Regions from separate parts of the Homo sapiens genome. Here region 2 is linked to region 1. The links are contacts of gene promoters, found by promoter capture Hi-C in blood cells and fetal thymus (Javierre and others, 2016). All regions are on one chromosome and are shown on one strand. Each heading gives the region's core, a stretch centred on a gene start or on the middle of the fragment in contact. The rest is flanking DNA. Distances are from core to core; before and after follow the strand shown.

Region 1 (3,824 bases), core at 59-2,558:
GAGTACACCAGCACAATCCTGGCTCACTGTAGCCTCGACCTCTCAGGCTCAAGTGATCCTCCTATCTCAGCCTCCTGAATAGTTAGGACCACAGGCACATGCCACCACGCCCAGATAATTTGAGTTTTTGTAGAGACAAGGTCTCACTATGTTGCCCAGGCTCACCTAATTTTTACCAAACTTTTTGTAGAGACGGGGGTCTCATGTTGCTTAAATTGGTCTTGAACTCCTGGGCTCAAGAGTCATCTTATTCAATTAATAATTCTCTGTCTCCTAATTCCAGCAGACATAGAAAGACACAGAAGGCCAGCGCCATGGCTCACGCCTACAATCCCAGCAATTTGGGAGACTGAGGCTTGAGCCCAGAAGTTTACCACCAGCCTGGGCAACATGGTGAGACCCCGTCTCTCCATATATATATATAAAATAATAAAAATTATCCGGGCGTGTTGGCATGTGGCTATAGTCCAAGCTACTCAGAAGGCTGAGGTGGGAGGATCACTTGAGCCCGACAGGTGGAGGTTGCAGGGTTGCAGTGCGCCAACATCGCGCCACTGCACTCCAGCCTAGGCGACAGAGCGAGACCCTGTCTCAAAAAAACAAAAAACACCCCAAACAGAAACAACAACAACAACAAAAACCCCCACAGAAGGCAGTGAAGGCTTGGGATAGGATTACCTGGTTTAAACCCATAGAATGTCAGAATTGAAGGAAGACTTAGAGGTCACCTTTGTTTTTTTTTCTTTTGATACAGAGTCGCGTTCCGTTGCCCACCTGGAGTGCAGTGGCGCGATCACGGCTACCGCAGCCTCGACCTCCCGGGCTCAAGCGACCCTCCTGCCTCGGCCTCTCAAAGTGCTGGAGTTACAGGCGTGAGCCACTGCGCCCGGCCTAGAAGTCACCTTTCAACTTAGTCCTCTATACATGGGAAAAGTGAGGTCCAGAAAGGGTATGAGTTGTACCAGGTCGCTGACCCTGAACAGAAGCTAGATGTCTTAATTCCCAAATAGGACTCGCTGCTAACTCTTTGGGCATACCTTCGCGATTCAAGGCTCTTGGGTTTCCCGCTTTGGCCGCCTCGCCAAACCCAAGTCTTACACTCTTAGTGACCCCCTCCTTTCCTCCTTCCCCCTTAGGTCAGCAGGGTTTACTCATTCCAATTGCAATGCTCCATGTTGCCGGAGTAGCTCCTCGCTAGAAGAGAGATTAGTTATGTCACCGTCGGCTCCTCCCATTGGTCCGGGCGTGTGGAGCGCGGCGCCATGACGTCAGACGCCCAAATGAGTGGGGCGGTGAGGGGAAGGAGGAGGGAAGTAGGACTTCAACATGGCGGCTGCGGCACTGGCGGTGGCTACGGTGACGGCCTGGCCCGGAGCGGGCAGAGTTGGAGGTGGTGGCGTTCGCTCTCCCTAGGGGCTGTCGGGAGCTCAGCGGGGACCGAGCCTGGGAGGCCGGCCGGTGCCAGCACCTTTCGGCTTCTGAGACGGCGGCAGCAGCGGCATTCAGGTGAGGGGGGCCTCCCTCTGGGGGAGGGGGAAGAGGGGCGGAGTTGGGGGAGGGGGGCTGGTACTGGGAGACTGGGAAACGGGATGGGGGGCCGAGCGAGGTGAAGGGCGCCGGAGCTAGGAGGTGGGAGGGAAAAGTGGCCGGAGATCCGCGATTCGGGGAGGATTCTGGGAGAAGGGTCGGAGTGAGGGGACCGGAGTTGAAGGGGCGGAGGGGAAGTGGGATGCGGAAAAATGAGTTCGGATTAAGGAGACTAATACCCTACTGGAAGACAGGCATAGTAGACATCTATCGGGCTGGACTGAGAACTCGGTGGGAACTAGAGGATGTCAGGGAGGGGGACCCAGATTTTAGTAAAGAAGGTGAGTGGTGGGGAGTTGAGGGTGAGCTGGGGACGTGCGGTGTAGATTTAGTTCTCCCTGAGGCAATGAGATTGGGGAGAAAAGGTGGAGACTAGACCAGAGGTGAGTGATCTTTGGGGATATCTTTGGCCTTGTCTGGTCTTCTCCAGGTATGTTTATCCGCCTTTTTTGTTTCTTGGGTGGAGGCTTACCTATACAGTCCACCTGGGCCTCAGGAACCGCCCCAGTCTTTCTTGTGGAACGTCAGGTTCATTTATTTGAGCTATATCAGTGATCTTTGACCTTTGTTGCCAAATGTAATTGTTTCCAGACTAGCGTCTTAAAAGTATGGTTGGGCATAAAAATACGTTTTATGTTAAACTGAAAAAAAAATTGTTACTTTTAGTCACCATGCAGTGTTGCGAAACCAGATTTGGTAATTTAGTTAAGTATTACGTATATTCTGTTCTAACTTTACTCGTTAGTGCTTTGTCTCTTCAGTTATTAGCATTTGAGAATTTGAATAGATATGATGGATGTTTTCCTTTTTAATTTTGTCAGATTTGATGGTGGGAAAAACAAGATACTTAGTCTTTAGTGATATATAGTTCTTTCTAGTTAATGTCCCAACCTAAACTAAAAGTTTCCGTATTGGCCGGGCGCTGTGGCTCACGTCTGAAATCCCAGCACTTTGGGAGGCCGAGGCGGGCGGATCACGAGGTCAAGAGTTCAAGACCAGCCTGACCAACATGTTGAAACCCTTTCTCTACTAAAAAGCCAGCCGGGCGTGGTGGCAGGCGCCTGTAATCCCAGCTACTCGGGTGGCCGAGGCAGGAGAATGGCTTGAACCTGGGAGGCGGAGGTAGCAGTGAGCCTAGATCGCTGCATTGCACTCCAGCCTGGGCAACAGAGCGAGACTCCGACTCAAAAAAAAAAAAAAAGTTTACGTATTATGGCAAAGAATGTGAAATGTGTCAAGTCTTAAAAGAATTACATTGTCCGCATTAACTTACTATAAGTGAAATTTTATTAAATTTTTGTTTCTAGTTCTATTAATTCATGGTGTTTATTAAATAGCTACTGTGTGTTGCAATAATAAGAGTCATTATAATTACAGAAATGCTAAACTTAATGTTTCTTTAGTGAGTGACCATCGCTGTCATTGCACAGCAGATAACTTTACTAACCTGCTAGAACCTCATTGGAAAAAAAACTTTTTTTTTTTTTTGTTTCTTTTTATTTTTTTCCAGAGGGAGTCTCGGTCTGTTGCCCAGGCTGGAGTGCAGTGGCGCGATCTTGGCTTGCTGCAACCTCCGCCTCCTGGGTTCAAGTGACTGTCCTGCCTCAGCCTCCCGAGTAGCTGAGATTATAGACACCCACCACTACGGCTGGCTAATTTTTGTATTTTAGTAGAGACGGGGTTTCACCATGTTGGTCAGGCTGGTCTCGAACTTCTGACCTCAAATAATCCTCCGGCCTTGGTCTCCGAAAGTGCTGGGATTACAGGCGTGAGCCACCGCACCCGGCCTGTTTTCTTTTTTTTTTTTTTTTTGAGACAGAGTTTCGCTCTGTGCCCAGGCTGGAGTGCAGTGGCGCAATCTCAGCTCACTGCAAGCTCCGCCTCCCGGGCTTGCCATTCTCCTGCCTCAGCCTCCTCAGTAGCTGCGATTACAGGCGCCTGCCACACACCTGGCTAATTTTTTAAAATATTTTTTTAGTAGAGACGGGGTTTCACCGTGTTAGCCAGGATGGTGTCCATCTGCTGACCTCGTGATCCACCCGTCTTGGCCTCCCAGAGTGCTGGGATTACAGGCGTGAGCCACCGCGCCCGGCCTTTTTTATTTTTATTTGTATTTTATTTTATTTTTTGAGACGGAGTCTCCCTCTGTCGCCCAGGCTGGAGTGCAGTGGCGCGATCTCGGCTCTCTGCAAGCTCTGCCTCCCGCGTTCACGCCATTCTCCTGCCTCAGCCTCCTG
Region 2 (3,615 bases), core at 1,054-3,553, 440 kb after region 1:
GAAAACACAATTGCCACCACCACTCTGGGCCCTTAGCATTCTCACTGACCTATCCTCACCAAGGGTAGAAGGCCTCTTTTCTCCTAGATGTCACCGAGACAAGCCAGAGCTTTGTCTAATTTCTAGTTACTAAGCAGGTTACTAGTTCTGACATAACCAGGATCTCAGTGTCTAATTTGTTTCCTGCCCCTTAACCTTGCCTGGGAAATCCCATACCCTTTTTACCCTCCTTCACCAAGAGAAGCTTTCAGGTAGAGCTCTTATTTCATAACTTAGGACACTGTCATGGGCTTGAGGTTTAGCCACAAGGTAGAAAAGCACACCACAATTTACCAATTGAATTGGGTGTAGGTAAATGTCCTCATAATCTTTCTATCCCCAAAGGGCTATTCCAGTGACCTAATGAACTGAAGGGCTAGGGCCAGGTACCAGGAAGCTGAGGGGTGGGATGTCGGGCAGGCAGGCACATCATGGAAGCACTTACTCTTTTTGTAGAGAATCTTCACCCTCTCCCTCTTGCTGGAAATGTTCCCCAAAGCCACCTGCACCTTGACCAGGCCGTCAGCCACCTGTAAGGGAAGTGGTGGTTAATTCCAAGATATACTACCTGGCTCAAGGCTTGGAAAAGTTAAAGAACCCTCATTCTCCCAGACTCTCAAACCTGAATCCCAGTAATCTAGGTTGGCCTCCCTTCTCTAATATTAAAGGAGATGCAGCCCCACCTTCCAGGAATCCTTAAAGTGGAGAGAGAGAATCATGTACTCCTTGGGGAGTTTCAAGTCTGATGGGGAAGATAACGAACTATTTTAGAGTCTATGGAATATAGAGTATACACAATATATTTTCTGGTTCCTAAGTCCTGGGTTTGGGCATGAGAAACACAAGCATCCTCATTCAAGCCTTCATGACCTCTAGATTGGCTGGCCTACCTCTAGCCCTATCCCCTCCACATCAAATTTGGTGTGGGAGATGGAAGAGTCCAAACAACTGGGATCCCAATGATGGTGCAATCACTGAATTAGGGAATACAGAAGAGAATCAGGTTAGGGGAGAGAAAGAGTACAGTTAAGGGCATACAGATTGAGTTTGAAATGACTATTGGATATCCAAGTGGAAAAGTCCAGTAGACAACTAGACATAAAAGTCTGGTTCTCAGAACAGAAATCTGGACCAGAGATATACATTTGAGACATATTGACATGTAAATAGTAATTGACACCATGGAAGCGAGTGAGCCTACCTAAAGTTTAGGGGTAGAATGTAAAGAATCCCAATATTAAAGGGTCAAATAGAGGAGGAGACTAAGGAAGTGACTGCACTCACCCAGTTTTTAGGGTAGAGGATGAGGAATGCCAGGGGGGAGGCAAATAACACTGAGAAGCAGCCGTAAGAGGTAGAAGGAAAACCAGGAGGGTCAGCGTCATAGATCCCAAAGGAAGAGAATGTTTGAGAAGTTAGTTCTGAAATGGGAGCACAGTCTGCTAGTGACAACTAATTCCTCATTTAGTGTACAAACAGACATCATTACCTTGGACGCACTTAGCTCCAGGACATGCCTGACACGCCATCAGAAGTTCTTCAATAAAAGATCTTCCCATAGTAGAAAGGGGAGGAGAGGGCACCTGAGCTTCGTAGTTGTCAAAATTCTGTCACTGGTATAAAGCAGTGCTAGTCCACATCTGAATACCCAGTACCCAGTCTCTTCCCTTCCTAATCCTGGTCCTTTCAGACCTCACTTCTCACCCTTTGGCGTTTTCCTTATCCACCTCTGCTCTGCCTCCCCAGGGGTCCCATGGACCTCTTCCTGCACAATTCATTTAGCAATTAATTATGCAGGGCTCTATGACGGGCCTTCCTATCGTGGACTTCAGCTCTTATTGAAACTCTCATTAGTCAGCTTCTCGTGTCAGGTCTCCCCAACTATAGCTCGCGAGGGCAAGGGCGGAGTCTCAGCTACAGTAGGTACGGAGCCCACTCTCAGGCTGGCTTAACCACCCGCAGAGCCCCCTATGACAGTGGACCCCGATGGTCCAATCAGCTCTGGGAGGTCCCGGACCTTTGTTATTTCAAAGGCCGGGCTGCGGAGAACAGGACTGGAGCGGTTGCATCCCGAGGGCCAGGACAGTGGACCGCTCTTGCTCTGCTCCAGAAAGGGACTACCGGACCAGACTACTCACCTTCCGTGAGCCGCGCGCCCCGCCCGGCCCGTACACCCAGCGCTCCAGCTCTTCCACTCGGGCCTGTAGCCGCTGCAAGTCAGTCAGACCCGCCATCGCTACTACCGACCCACCTCGGCCAGGAAACAGCCAGAGGGCGGGACGTCAGTCCAAATAAGAAGGCTAGCCAATCCGAGTGCACGAGCGGCCCTTTATGCAGGAAGTGACGCCATGATTCAGCCCTTCAGTGCCGGAAGTTACTCCTCGGAGCTGTCAAAAGCTGATTACCTTGGCAACGGCTCTGTCCCATCCCTCCCCTGGCTTCCAGTGCCTGGTTGTCAAGATAACCTTTGCTTTTCGGGTACCAAAGAGCTTTCCCCACGCCATTCCCTGAGTTTGCACGTGTTCCAGGATAGGTCCATTCCCATAGATACATCATTAGGAGGCTCCGTGAGTTACCATAAACTTTTGGAGTCTTCTAAGGTTCAGTTGATTAAGTAACTTGCCCAAGGCCACCCAGCACTATAGGGACAGAAACAGGACTTGAACTCAGGCTGTCTGATTCAAGAGACGGAGCTCTTCTATTCTCACGAAACTTTGCTATTCTGCCTTAACCTCTGAAAGCCCCTGGCCCAAGGCAGCCTATGTTCCACATCATTCCTCCCCACCTCCCATACCCAAACAAGAAAGGAGGCATCAGAGAGGGAGGGACCGCAGCTTTATTGTCTAGATGTGACCTGAGGGATGTCTCTTTCACAGTACCCCAACCCAACCTTTCACTTGGCTCCTGAAGAGAAGCAGGGCTGACTCAAAAGGGTAGGGTCCTAGAGATGACATTGACAGAGGGAACACATGAGGAGATGATGGGGTTACTGGAGGAAGAACCCTTTGGTAGGTGCTGCTGGAATTGGCCAGGGAGGAGGTGCCCTCCCTTTACAATGAGGTAGGTGTAACATCAAAAGAAACTTTGGTTTTAAGTCCACATGGCATGGGAGGTGTCGTCCCCTCCCAGGGCTGGGTCCCAGAGTGGGCAGCCAGAAAGAATCAAAGCAGGGGGTCTCCTCCCCCCTCAGCAATGGGGCTGGGACTCTTAGTTTCAAGTAGGACCTCTCAGGGCAAGATGCTGGAAGGGGGCCCTGTGGAGGGTGGGGGTGCAGGGTTGGTTGGACCCTGGGAAGCTGGCACAGGCTGGCGGCGGGCAAAGAGGACACCTGGCAAAGGGGTGAGGAGATGGTAGAGGGCAAAAACAAGCAGGAGGGGGTAGGGTATGGAAACAGAAGAGGGGAACAAAAGTAAGTGTTCTGGTTGCTAGAACACTACACACGTACCCCTGCCACAAACCAATGAGGACAAGCTCCTTGGGTCAGTAAGAGACTCCATTGCTAATGTAGATACCTCAAACAGGTAAACAAGGAATATTTATGCTGATACATAGGCCCAAGACAAGGCAGACATCCCC

The links. The method cuts DNA at HindIII sites, captures the fragments that hold promoters and counts their contacts. A CHiCAGO score of 5 or more calls a contact.
Region 2: the fragment with the promoter of DCTN3 here is called in contact with the fragment with the promoter of UBAP1 in region 1 in 1 of 17 cell types (monocytes); the score reaches 6.2 in monocytes.

Annotation. Positions count from the first base shown.
Region 1 is chr9:34,177,735-34,181,558 of GRCh38, forward strand. It overlaps UBAP1 (ubiquitin associated protein 1), which reads left to right and starts at 1,309. Exons shown (of 7, transcript NM_016525.5): 1 at 1,309-1,506. RefSeq lists enhancers at 358-1,316, 1,122-1,551, 1,317-2,273, 2,274-3,231. The HindIII fragment of the contact is 10,457 bases long and covers 1-3,824 here.
Region 2 is chr9:34,618,192-34,621,806 of GRCh38, forward strand. DCTN3 (dynactin subunit 3) reads right to left here and starts at 2,304. Exons shown (of 7, transcript NM_007234.5): 1 at 2,178-2,304; 2 at 485-569. The coding sequence starts at 2,273. ARID3C (AT-rich interaction domain 3C) reads right to left here. Exons shown (of 8, transcript NM_001017363.4): 8 at 2,858-3,367. The coding sequence ends at 3,267. The HindIII fragment of the contact is 4,259 bases long and covers 243-3,615 here.